Linked DNA regions of Homo sapiens: regions 2, 3 and 4 are each linked to region 1. Evidence: promoter capture Hi-C in human tissues and cell types (Jung and others, 2019). All regions are on one chromosome and are shown on one strand. The core of a region is centred on a gene start or on the middle of the fragment in contact, and the rest is flanking DNA. Distances in the headings are between cores, read along the strand shown.

The links. The method cuts DNA at HindIII sites, captures the fragments that hold promoters and counts their contacts. A contact is called where the count stands out against the background at its distance.
Region 2: a fragment that was not itself captured here is called in contact with the fragment with the promoter of PSMC6 in region 1 in 1 of the 25 tissues and cell types used here (liver).
Region 3: a contact is called between a fragment that was not itself captured here and the fragment with the promoter of PSMC6 in region 1, in 1 of the 25 tissues and cell types used here (mesendoderm cells).
Region 4: a fragment that was not itself captured here is called in contact with the fragment with the promoter of PSMC6 in region 1 in 2 of the 25 tissues and cell types used here (mesendoderm cells and thymus).

Annotation. Positions count from the first base shown.
Region 1 is chr14:52,705,893-52,708,592 of GRCh38, forward strand. PSMC6 (proteasome 26S subunit, ATPase 6) reads left to right here and starts at 1,308. Exons shown (of 14, transcript NM_002806.5): 1 at 1,308-1,412; 2 at 2,417-2,496; 3 at 2,591-2,630. The coding sequence starts at 1,328. RefSeq lists enhancers at 859-968, 989-1,048, 1,349-1,598, 1,619-1,668. The HindIII fragment of the contact is 7,628 bases long and covers 1-2,700 here.
Region 2 is chr14:52,403,663-52,406,731 of GRCh38, forward strand. No RefSeq gene overlaps it. Among named protein-coding and RNA genes, the nearest start is that of PTGER2, 91 kb to the left of the region's middle. The HindIII fragment of the contact is 6,411 bases long and covers 1-3,069 here.
Region 3 is chr14:52,962,655-52,965,440 of GRCh38, forward strand. No RefSeq gene overlaps it. Among named protein-coding and RNA genes, the nearest start is that of FERMT2, 13 kb to the left of the region's middle. The HindIII fragment of the contact is 4,794 bases long and covers 1-2,786 here.
Region 4 is chr14:53,009,217-53,012,118 of GRCh38, forward strand. It overlaps the pseudogene NDUFB3P3. Among named protein-coding and RNA genes, the nearest start is that of FERMT2, 60 kb to the left of the region's middle. The HindIII fragment of the contact is 6,678 bases long and covers 1-2,902 here.

The DNA of each region.
Region 1 (2,700 bases), core at 58-2,557:
GCGTGGTGGCGGGCGCCTGTAATCCCAGCTTCTCAGGAGGGTGAGGCACGACAATCGCTTGAACCCGGGAGGCAGAGGTTGCAGTGAGCCAAGATCGCACCACTACACTGCAGCCTGGGTGACAGAGTGAGACACAGACTCAAAAAAAAAAAAAAAAAAAAAAAAATCTGGCCGGGCGCAGTGCCTCACACCTGTAATCCTAGCACTTTGGGAGGCTGAGGAGGGTGGATCACCTGAAGTCAGCAGTTCGAGACCAGCATGGCCAACATGGCGAAACCCCGTCTCTACTAAAAATACAAAAATTAGCCGGTTGTGGTGGCGCACACCTGTAATGCCAGCTACTCCGGAGGCTGAGGAAGGAGAATTGCTTGAACCCGGGAGGTGGAGGTTGCAGTGAGCTGAGATCGCGTCACCGCTCCAGCCTGTGCGGCAGGAGCAAGACTCCATCTCAAAAGTAAATAAATAAATACATAAATCTGAAGGTTCTATCAGACTTCAAAGTTCCTGCCTCAGCCTACTTCAGCATCTTTATCTTGTACCCCACATCTCTACAACCCACCCCCTACTGGTCTCATTGGCCTCCTTTCTGTTCCTGGAAGTGAGTCAAGCTTTCTACCCACAACCCCCACCCCACTCCACTCCAGGACTTGCACTGTTTGTTTAGGTTTTCTTCAGTTGTTGCAAGGCTGGCTCCTTCTCATCTCAGATATCTGTTCTAGATTAATTCTTCCCACCATACTTCTCACCGTGTTTTAATTCCTTCACAGTATTTGTTAAACTCTGAAGTTTTTTTTATTATTATTTCCTATCAAATGATAAGCAGATCTACCTTTAATACCTCATTCACTGACTGAATGGATGAATAAAACTGTCTACTTCTCCAGCACGTGGAGGTCTTGGACAGTACTGTGTTATAACAAAGGCCATCTGTGTTGTGTCGACAGGCCATCGGAACTCCTTTGAGGTATTACACATTTCCTACTTCACTTCCATCTCAGTTTATTACAGAGCCTTTTATACTTCCGGGACAGCAGTGACTTAATACTGAGGCCTCTCAGGGGAAGACCGGGATAACTGAGTCCTGCTTTACCTATCTCGGCTTGCAAGAAACGGTATAGGTGGAGGCCTCTTTCAGTGTATGCCGGCGCTCTAGGTGAACCGAGACATAGAGGTGGAAGTGGAGTAGAAAGACGGGGCCAACCGGAAGGGGAGGGCTCATGGGCGAACCCACCCCTCCAGGCAGGGTTTCGCCCCTCGCCCCGCCCCTTCCCCCGCCCGGACGGCCATGGCCATTCCCGGCATCCCCTATGAGAGACGGCTTCTCATCATGGCGGACCCTAGAGATAAGGCGCTTCAGGACTACCGCAAGAAGTTGCTTGAACACAAGGAGATCGACGGCCGTCTTAAGGAGTGTGAGTGCACCTTTCTTTCCATTTAATCAAGTGCCTCGACTCGCTTCTGCCTCTGACAAAGCAGAAGCCTTTCGCCGAGCCCGGCAACCGAGCCTTAGAGATGACCAGGCCTAGGGCCAGGGACAAGGCGCTTTGTCATCCGGCCCTGAGCTTGTGGAGCAGCACTCCTTCGGGTGTAGAAATGGCCCAGTCCAGCCCGGGTGACAGAACATCGGCGGCCTTGAGGTGAAAATGAAAAAGAAGTAGAGGAGGAGTGGGGAAGTGGGCCGAGGATGTTTCCCAGGTTAGGGTGCAAGAAGGGCAGTCTTGGTGGAGTCCCGGGACTTGGAGAGGGGAAGGCGCTTGAGTCAAGTAAGCTCAAACAAGAGATGAGACTCAGGGAGTCGGCTTGTTCTTGGAGTCGAAAGACGGCCGCGGAGCTTAAGAGAGAAGTGTTCCAGTTGTCATAATAACCCATATCGTCTTGTGTTTCGTGTTGTACTGTATCAGGCATACAAATTTCCCTTACCTCCTGAGTGCTTAACTTTTTTTTCCAGTGCATTTTCATTGAAAAGCATGAGTAGTTTAATTAAATGGAGGACCATAATTACATGATTCTGTGGAGAACTGCATTTGTTGACTTTATTTAGGGTAGAATGTCAGAGAACAATCCACGTGGGTAGGTGAAGAGGTGAGGAAGGGTCTAAGTGATTATCATTCGGATTTGTAGTCGCAAATCCTAAGTGTCAGGGTGTCAATATCTTCTAAGACTATAACTTAAGATGTGCTTAAACAAGTATTGCCGATCAACAAAGTAAAAGTATGGTGCTTTCTCTGTAACATTTTGTTGTTATACATGCCACCTACTCATTACAAACAGCATTATTTCTTTTATGGTTTGAAACAGTGGATGTGAAACTTAGGTAAAGTGAAGTAGACTTACGTAAACAGTAAAGTGAGACGTAGCGACTTAAACACACTAAGATTACTGTTCAATTAAAAATGTTCAAATTGTATTATTTCAGTAAGGGAACAATTAAAAGAACTTACCAAGCAGTATGAAAAGTCTGAAAATGATCTGAAGGCCCTACAGAGTGTTGGGCAGGTAGGTGATGGAGTTTGGGGAATAGGGGGTGATGGTAATTTGCTTTTTTATTTAGCTGTTGCCAAAAAGTAATGCTTTTTATTTTCTTCCTTAGATCGTGGGTGAAGTGCTTAAACAGTTAACTGAAGAAAAATGTGAGTGATGAATTAGCTTATTAATTAGTAAAGAAACAGTCCACCTCTCTCTCACTTTTGAAATGCTTAT
Region 2 (3,069 bases), core at 464-2,963, 300 kb before region 1:
AATGGAGTAATATGTCTCAACCCTCCATTGCCAGCTTTGAAGATGGGCTTGCTGACACATTGATTTTAGCCCAGTAAGAAAGGTCTAATTCCAACTTCTGAGCTATAGAAATGTAAGATCATGCATTTTTTTTTTGCTTAAAGCCACTAAGTTTGTGGTAATTTGTTACAGCAGCAATAAAAAACTAATAAACTATTCTATTTCTAGAGATGAGGAAATGGAGGCACAGAAAGATTAAGTTACTTGTCCTAATTTTGAATACTTAACATTGTTCTGTCTTGGGAGCTTCCTGGTTTTTCTCACACCTCTCAGGTTCATTTGTTTCTCAGGCTCCATGCAAGATTCCTCATCCCAACCCAATCTCTAAACATCAGTGTTTCTCAGAGATTTCTTCCAGAGATACACTTCTCTTTCTCTTTGAATTCTTTTCTACATGATCTCATCTATGCCCAGAGTTTTAAATACTGCTTATGATACAGTATTATACTGATGACTCCCAAAATGATATTTCTAATTGGGACCCTTTCCTCTGAGCTCTACACTAGTAAGCTTGGCATCTGGCAACCTGATATCTTTATTTGAATAGACTACAAATATTTCAAACCTAACATGTTCAAAAAAGAATTTCTACCACAAACAACTTCCCAATCCCCACATTCAATTACACTTGACTCAAGTCAAAAAGTTTAGTAAAGCTTCATCCTCTCTTTCCCTCACCCTCCATGTTCATCCCACTAGCACTTAACCCAGTCCATCCATTTTTGTCTGCCTTGACTACCAACCTGGCCTAAACACCCATCATTTCTCACCTGCAAAACTGTAGTAACTTCCCAATGGCTTCTGCTTCTACCCTTGTTCCTCCATGGAACTCTTTTCCTCACCAAGGTGAGAGTGTCCTTCTTTGACAGTAAATCAGATCTTGCCACTTCCCTGCTTAACATCCTTTAATGGCTTTTCATTGTCCTTAGAATAACATCTAAGCTTCTTTTCCATGACTCCTAAGGCCCTGTGCAATCCAGCCCTGTCCACCTCATCCATCTCACCTGATGCCATTGCCACTCACTCATTCACCTTTTTTCAATGACACTGGGCTTCTCTCGTTGTCTCAGCCCTCAAAGTTCTTTCCTGCCTCAAGGTCTCTATATCTGCTACTTCTCTTTTGGGGAGTGTACTCACATACCTTTCACCTATCTATTCATTCTTCGATTTTCATGTGAAATGTCTCCGCAGTAAAGACAACACCAAACCATGTGAACTAAAGTGTTTTCATTCTGCCATCTGACCTCTCCCAACTTTATTCTCTATCTCAGGCCCATTATTGCCTTCATAGCACTGATTACACCCTGCAGTTTTTTTGTCATTTGGTTGTTTTTGTTTTTGTCTTTCTAGAATGTTAGTTCAATAAGGGCAAAAACTGTGTCCGTCTTAATTACCACAGTAATCCCAGAGCTTAGTACTATGCCTGACACAAAGTAGGTGCTCAATAAATGTGTTCAATGTTGAATAAATGTTAATGTACAAAGTTAGTTATGTTCAAAATGGTACAGGAGAGTGACATCAGCCAGATGATGGAGTAGGAGATGCCAACCTCTATCTCCCCACAAAAACTAACAAATAGGCAGATATCCATAAATGAAAATAGCTTTGAGAGGACTTAAGGGTCCAATTAAGAATCTGCAGAATGCAGTAGAGCAAAACGGAAAAGCATAACCCCACAGAAAGGATCACTGGGGAGATCAGCCCATCCAAGACATCTGGAGATGCCTAAGAACAAAGAAGAAGGGTGGGGGCTGCCAGTCTCAGTCACATGGTGGGTGTCACCACAGTCCTCTGTTCTCCAGAGGACACTGGCATATCTCACCACCAAGGTAACCAATGCCATCCTGCTGCAGAAGACCCCCAAGAGAAGGAGCTGCTGCTGTACTTCCTATTTCCTTCCAAGGGGGAACCACTGCCAACCCTCCCAACCCTGCATGTGACCCAGACCCTGGAGCTGCAGCTGCTTCATGTGTGAATGCACTCCAGACCCCAGCTCTGTGGGCACCCTGTGCATGCCCTTGCCTCAAACACCAAAGCTACCACTACTATAGCTAGCTCTGCCACAGGCCTTGAGGACTTGATAGTATAATCCAGAGAGGGTCAAAACATACATAAGATAGCTTTAAAATCTCGTGTTTCATCTTTAATGTGAATTTTACATTACTCTCCAAGATAGCTTTGTGTTTTATGTCAATAAAAAAGAATGCTATCTGTCCTCAGATAAAAGGTGATGCTTTATAAAGATGCTCCATTTTTCTGTCTGTGGCTGCATTTACCCCATTTTGAGATTTGCTCGTGACCCTAAGAGAGCTGGAACTCATCACAGGAATTGAATGTAGAGGACTGAGATCAAGAGAATGTGCAGGTTAATGTGAAAAATGAACTTGGAGACAGAAGAGCTAGATATGAATCTTCAGTTATCCATTTCCTGGGTGACTTTAGCAAAGTCAATTCAATTCTTTGAAATTTAGTTTCCACATCTGAAAAATAGGCCTGCAGGTTATATCTCTCTAAGAGTTGTAGGCTATTGTTTTTTAATCTTTCCAAGCCCTTCTTCCTTCACCTACCTATTTTGAGGACCAGTCTAGTAGTGTGAGATAATGCCCATTCTCCTTGAGAGGATTTAGAAATCAATGGGAACCAGCATAGACTAAGAACTCACCATAGTTCTGAAAACTGAAAACTTGATTATTTTTAAAAATAGTCACTTGTAAACATATTTTAAAATAATTCATAAACTAATAGAATATCTTACATATACTGTGTCTTGATTTTTATAAAACATTTGACAAAGTTTCTTGTGGTACTTTTTTCTTAATTAATAAAAAGCTATTGTTTTATTATATTCCACATTCATATTGAGTGGATTAAAATTCTGGGTGCAACATAAAGTCAAAATAACTGAATAATGTAACATGTTAAAAACATATTTCTGTCCAAAACTTGGGCCATGAGTCACTTTGAAAACAGTTACTGTGGTTTTTTTTATTTATTAGGTAATTTTTTTATTATACTTTAAGTTTTAGGGTA
Region 3 (2,786 bases), core at 182-2,681, 260 kb after region 1:
AATTCTCCTTTGCTGGAGACCACTCTAGACTCTTACCAACCCAAACATGGCACCAGAGTGATTTGCAAACAAATTTTATCTGTTAGTTTCCTCCAATATATTTAACTTTCCTTAGAAGTCTAAAATTGCTTTTCTTTGTCTGTTCTCTACAAATGTATTGTTCTTTGTTGAAGATGCTGTATATGCTGTATAAGCCATTGATCTGAGTTACTTTTCATTGAAATTTCTCCCAGATGATGTGTGCTGTATGCATTAATTAAATTGTTTGTTTTTCTTTTGTTAATCTGTCTTTTGTTATAGGCATCCCAGCTAAGAACTACGAGGGGTTGAGGGAAAATTATTTTTCCTCCCCAATACCTCTGTTTCTATCAGTCCACTGAGTCAGTTTTTTAATGTCACCAATAATCCTCATGTGGCATAAGAAATGGTGCCCTTTCCATCCTTTTCTTCGAATTCTCTCAGCCGCTTGCCCACTCTCTCTTTCTGAACACACACTCCTCTTGGAGTCTGGACATTGCCGTCTTTGAGCTTTTCCTCTACCTCTCTTTTCTCATTTTTCAGACTTCCTTGCTTTCTTGCTGGCTCATCCTCTAGCTGATCTCTGAAGTCAGCATGCTATAGTACCTCTTTTCTTCTCTACATACATTCTCTCTCCAGCTGATCTCCTCATACCTTGAGGCTTAAAATACTATCTCTCTGTTGATGATTTCCAAACCTCTAGCCCAGACCTGTGCTTGAAGCTCCAGACCTGTAGATCCATGTGTAGTAGGCACTTCAAACTAAAATGTGCAGTGTGAGACTCTGGACTTTTCCTCCAATATCTACTTCTGCCCCAGTATTTTTCATCCCATCAGATAATATCACCATTCAACCCATTTGCTCAACTTACAAACTAGGAGTCAACCTTGATTTTCCACTTTCCTTTACTGCCAGTCTGCAATGACTAGTTTAACACTACATCCTGTTGGTCTGTCTCTAAAACAGATCCCAAATTGTTCCACTTTTCTCCACCTCCACCACCCCACCCTAATCTTAGCTACTGTCTTCTCACTTATATTATTTATTCAGTAGCCTCCTAAGTGGCCTCTCTGATCTTTCCCCTTCCAATCCATTTCACTACACAGCAGCCAGAGTGATCCTTTAAATCTGTAAATCACAACATTTACTCTTCTCTTAATAACATCAGTAGCTTTCCATCACACTTAGAATAGAATCCAAACTCCTTATCATGGCTTGAAAGGCCTCACAGGATCTGGACCGTCTACCTTGCTGACCTCTTGCTCACTGTATCCAGTCATTCAGGACTCCTTACTTTTCTATCTTAGCACATACCATTCCCTTGGCCCCCAGGCTTTTCCCTGCCTCTTCTTGTGGCTCTATGTTTCTCAGCCCCAGTATCATCCCTCAGCAAGGCTTTTCCTGGCCAGGCAGTCTGTAGTAGCCTTTACCACACTGCATCCCCACCACCCCATTACTTTCTATTTCCTCATTTGCTTTTGTTCTCCTATAAAACTTACCAAGAATTCAAAATTATCACATTTGTTTGTTAGCTTATGATATTGTTTGGCTCTGTGTCCCCACCCAAATCTCATCTGAAATTGTAATCCCCATGTGTCCAGGGAGGGAAGTGATTGGATCAAGGGGGCAGTTTTCCCCATGCTGTTCTCGTGATGGGGAATGAGTTTTCATGAGATCTGATGGTATTATAAGTGCCTGGCATTTCCCCTGCTTGCACTCACTCTCTCTCCTGACACCATGTGAAGAAGGATGTATTTGCTTCCCCTTCTGCCATGATTTTAAGTTTCCTGAGGCTTCCCAGCCATGTGGAACTATGAATTAATTGAAGCTCTTTTCTTTATAAATTACCCAGTCTCAAGTATTTCTTTATAGCAGTGTGAAAACGGACTAATACAGCATATTTGTCTTCATCCCAGCCAGCCTTCTTTTCTACCATTATAAGAGCCCCTTGAAGGGAGAGACTTTCCAATTCCATGCACTGGCACCATTCCAGCTCCGTGGGCACAATTCATGTCATGATCATGTGAATAGAGGTCCCTAAGGCTCCCAGCCTTGTTCTACTTTGTTCACAGCCATATCTCCCAAGCACCTAGCATAGTACCTGGCACATGACTGGTGCTCAACAAGAATTTGATGAATGAATGAAAGAATGAAAGGGTGCATATCTTGGATTCTGTGCCACTAAGAAACTTAAACTCGTAAAGACTATTAGAACCAAGAGCATCAGCACGACATATAAATATTGATGAGTTTCTCAGCCCCACATGCTTTTTTAGTAGTGTGCTCTGATCTTTGAGCTGTAACCAAATATATCAATATGCATAGATCCTGTCCTTATCTTTGTCATAGACACTGTCCTTCAATCTTGTCTACTATCTTTGATTAGTCAACCCTGGCCCTTTGCAACCTAGCCTCACTCCTCATTCTCCTATGACTTCATCTCCTATTTCCCATTGAAATTGGAGCCAAGGGAATAACTCCCTTGATTTACTCTACCAAACCTTCCGGACTGTCAAAATCTACACAAGATGGTCTCTCTTCCTTCCCTGCCATTAGGCAGAAGAGGTGTTCATGTTCTTATCAAAGATTAATCCATCTGTGCCCACATCCCATTTCCTCCTATTCTCAATAGATTCTCCAGTGTTTTCTCCTGCATCTTTAAACTCTCTCCTTGACCCAGAGGCTTCTTATCTGCACTTAAATGTGCTCAAGTCTTTCCCATCATTTGAGAGGCTAGAGAAGAAGTCAGAAAGCCCTCCTCAGACTTT
Region 4 (2,902 bases), core at 253-2,752, 300 kb after region 1:
TGTGCCTGAATTCCTGGCCCAATAAATGGTGTTGAATCTACCAGAGAGCCAGCTGGAAAAAGATATCAGTGGAGCCCTACTTATCTCATCACTACAATAAATTCTGGCTGGATCACAGATATAAATGCTGAGCACAAAATAATAAATCTTTGAGTTGAATATATCGCGAGAATTTTTCATAATTTCAAGGGAAATACTATCTAAATGATAAACTTTCTAGAGGCCAAAAATGAAAAGGTAAGTTCAAAAACATAAAACTAGAATTCTGTATAAAACAAACAGTAGAAGTATGGAGGGAAGAAGAAACAAACTGGGGAAAAACCGTCCTACATGTACATTGACAAAACGTGATTTCCCCTGATATGTAGAGTTCAACAAGTCAAAACAAACAGCAATGTGATAGAAAACAGGCAGAGAACATGGTTCACAGAACAGAACATGCAAGTGGCTCTCAAACATAGGCAAAGATGCTTGACATTGGATAAAGATGAAACCAAATTAAAATGATAAGGTATTATTTTTTAACCTATCAATTGGGATTGGTAAAAAAGTTGGAATATTCTGTGCTAAGGGATGGGGAAACAGGCCCTCTCTTTTTCTTTTTTTTGAGACACAGTCTCACTCTCTCACCTAGGTTGGAGTGCAGTGGTGTGATCTCGGCTCACTGCAACCTCCACCTCCCAGGTTCAAGTGATTCTCCTGCCTCAGCCTCCAGAGTAGCTGGCACTACAGGTGCATGCCACCACACCCGGCTAATTTTTTTTTTTTTGTATTAGTAGAGACAAGTTTTCACCATAGCCAGATTGGTTTCGAACCTGACTTCAGGCGATCTGCCTGCCTCAGCCTCCCAAAGTGCTGGGATGACAGGCGTGAGCCGCCACACTGGACCGGAAACAGGTACTCTCATACCTGTGCGTATAAATTGGTACAATCTCCATGAAGGGCAATTTGACGAAATATCTATCAAAGTATCCAAATTTGACATAGAAATCTCACCTCTAGAAATTTTACCCACACATGATATATTTTAAAAGATTGTCACTGAAGCACAGTTTGTAATAGGGAAAGATGGAAAATAACCAACATGTATATAAACAGGGTACTGTTTATCTAGTGAAAATGAACAAATAAGGCAGTTCTGTTTGTACTGACATGAAGCAGTTTTCAAGGTTGTTTAGAAAAACAAAGAGAATATTGTGTAATGTATGCCATTTGTACAAAAACAATTACATATACCAGACGTGCTTATATATGCAAAGAATATTTCTGGGAAAATACACAAGAAACTTGCTTCCAGGAAGAACTAGGTGGCTGGGGAAAACAGAAGTTAGACACTTCTTATTTTATAGTTTTTTGAATATTTTGGGTGAATATTATGAATATATTCTCTATTCACTATTGTTAATACAAAAATGAAAAGGAAGCAATGTTTTGACACCCAAAGGCTCTCTCCAGGACTTAAAAGGGAGGCGTGTTTTTTAGGCAAGAAAGAGCCAGTGAATGCCCCTCTGTGGGAGCAAAAGAAGAGAACGCCCACTGCATTTTTAAAGTACAGCTTAAAATAGTGTGTTGCAAAGCTCAGTGGGCTCAGCCCTTTATGATTGTTGGTTAGAAGACTGTCAGGGATCATTTTCCAAATGCCAACTTACACTCCTCTGTCATCCAGAAAGTTCTTATTCCTGTGAGAATTTTTAGAATTTAGAGAATGGCTGGTAGGGCTGACAGCCCCATGTAAAGCAGGTGGGGAAACTTCAGAGGAGTGGTCCCCATGCATCTATTTCTCATTGTTTTCTTTCCTTGTTCCAGCCAGTGCTGCTGCTCCTCTTTCCTGGGTCCAGCCTTTGACGTAAACTCTGCAGCTGAGAACCCTGACCTCTCTCCCCGCTTCCCTGTCTTACTTAAGCCTGGAACAGCTCTTAAGCCTGGCACCTCTGCAGCTGTGACTCATTGCAAATGCTTTGCATTCCGGGATGTTCTTCAGGGTTTTGGGTCTCCCTTGTGGCTCAAAGAACCATGCAAGTTGAAAGGGAGGAGAAAAAGAGGCCCTGCAGCTGCCAAAACATTGCAGACATGAGGCGGGAAATTGTTAGGAAAACTGAAAAGGTTTTGTGCTGGAAGAACCCCAGCCAGCCACTCCCTCGCTTGGGCCTGCTTGTAACTGGAGCAGAGCTAGGGGACGCCTCCGTGGAAGCTGAGTCAACTGTGGGTTGTCCCAGCCCCCATGAGGTTCCATTCACAGACCCAGAGGCACCACACCCCATCTGGAGACCATCTCCATGTGTCCATGAAGGACTGGGTTAAAGCCACTCTGGAAAGCAGAAATGGGGGTGTCATCTAGAAGTATTGTTCGTCTCAAGTGTTAGTTTACCTTTACGTCACTGGAATGATTTTGTCAGCTTGTTCTGCCTCCTCACCACCTTCAGCTGTACACAATTTATGTTTATATTCAGGTCAATTGACATCTACTCTTATGACAGCTGTGTTCTTCCCTGACCCTTAAAGCTATGAGACCCTATGTTGAAGGTCTTTAGGTAAAAGAAATTAGTGTCTTGCTGTCCATTGTTAATTCAATGGAGATGGGGGAGGGTAAGCTGTGCCTTCTCACCTTCACTTCTTTCCTGATCCTCTATAAAGACTCCAATTGGGCATAATTTTAAAAACCTTTTAAATAAACTTTATCGATGTAAACTTACATATAAGAAAACACACCCGGGTTGGCTCCGGTTGCAGAGTTGAGTGTCCTGAGAGGTCAGAATGCCGTCAGACATGGCTCATGAACATGGACGTAGTAAAATGGAACTTCCAGATTATAAACAATGGAAGATAGAAGGGACACCATTAGAAACTGTCAAGAAGAAGTTGGCTGCGCAAGGGCTAAGGGATCCATGGGGTCAAGGTGAAG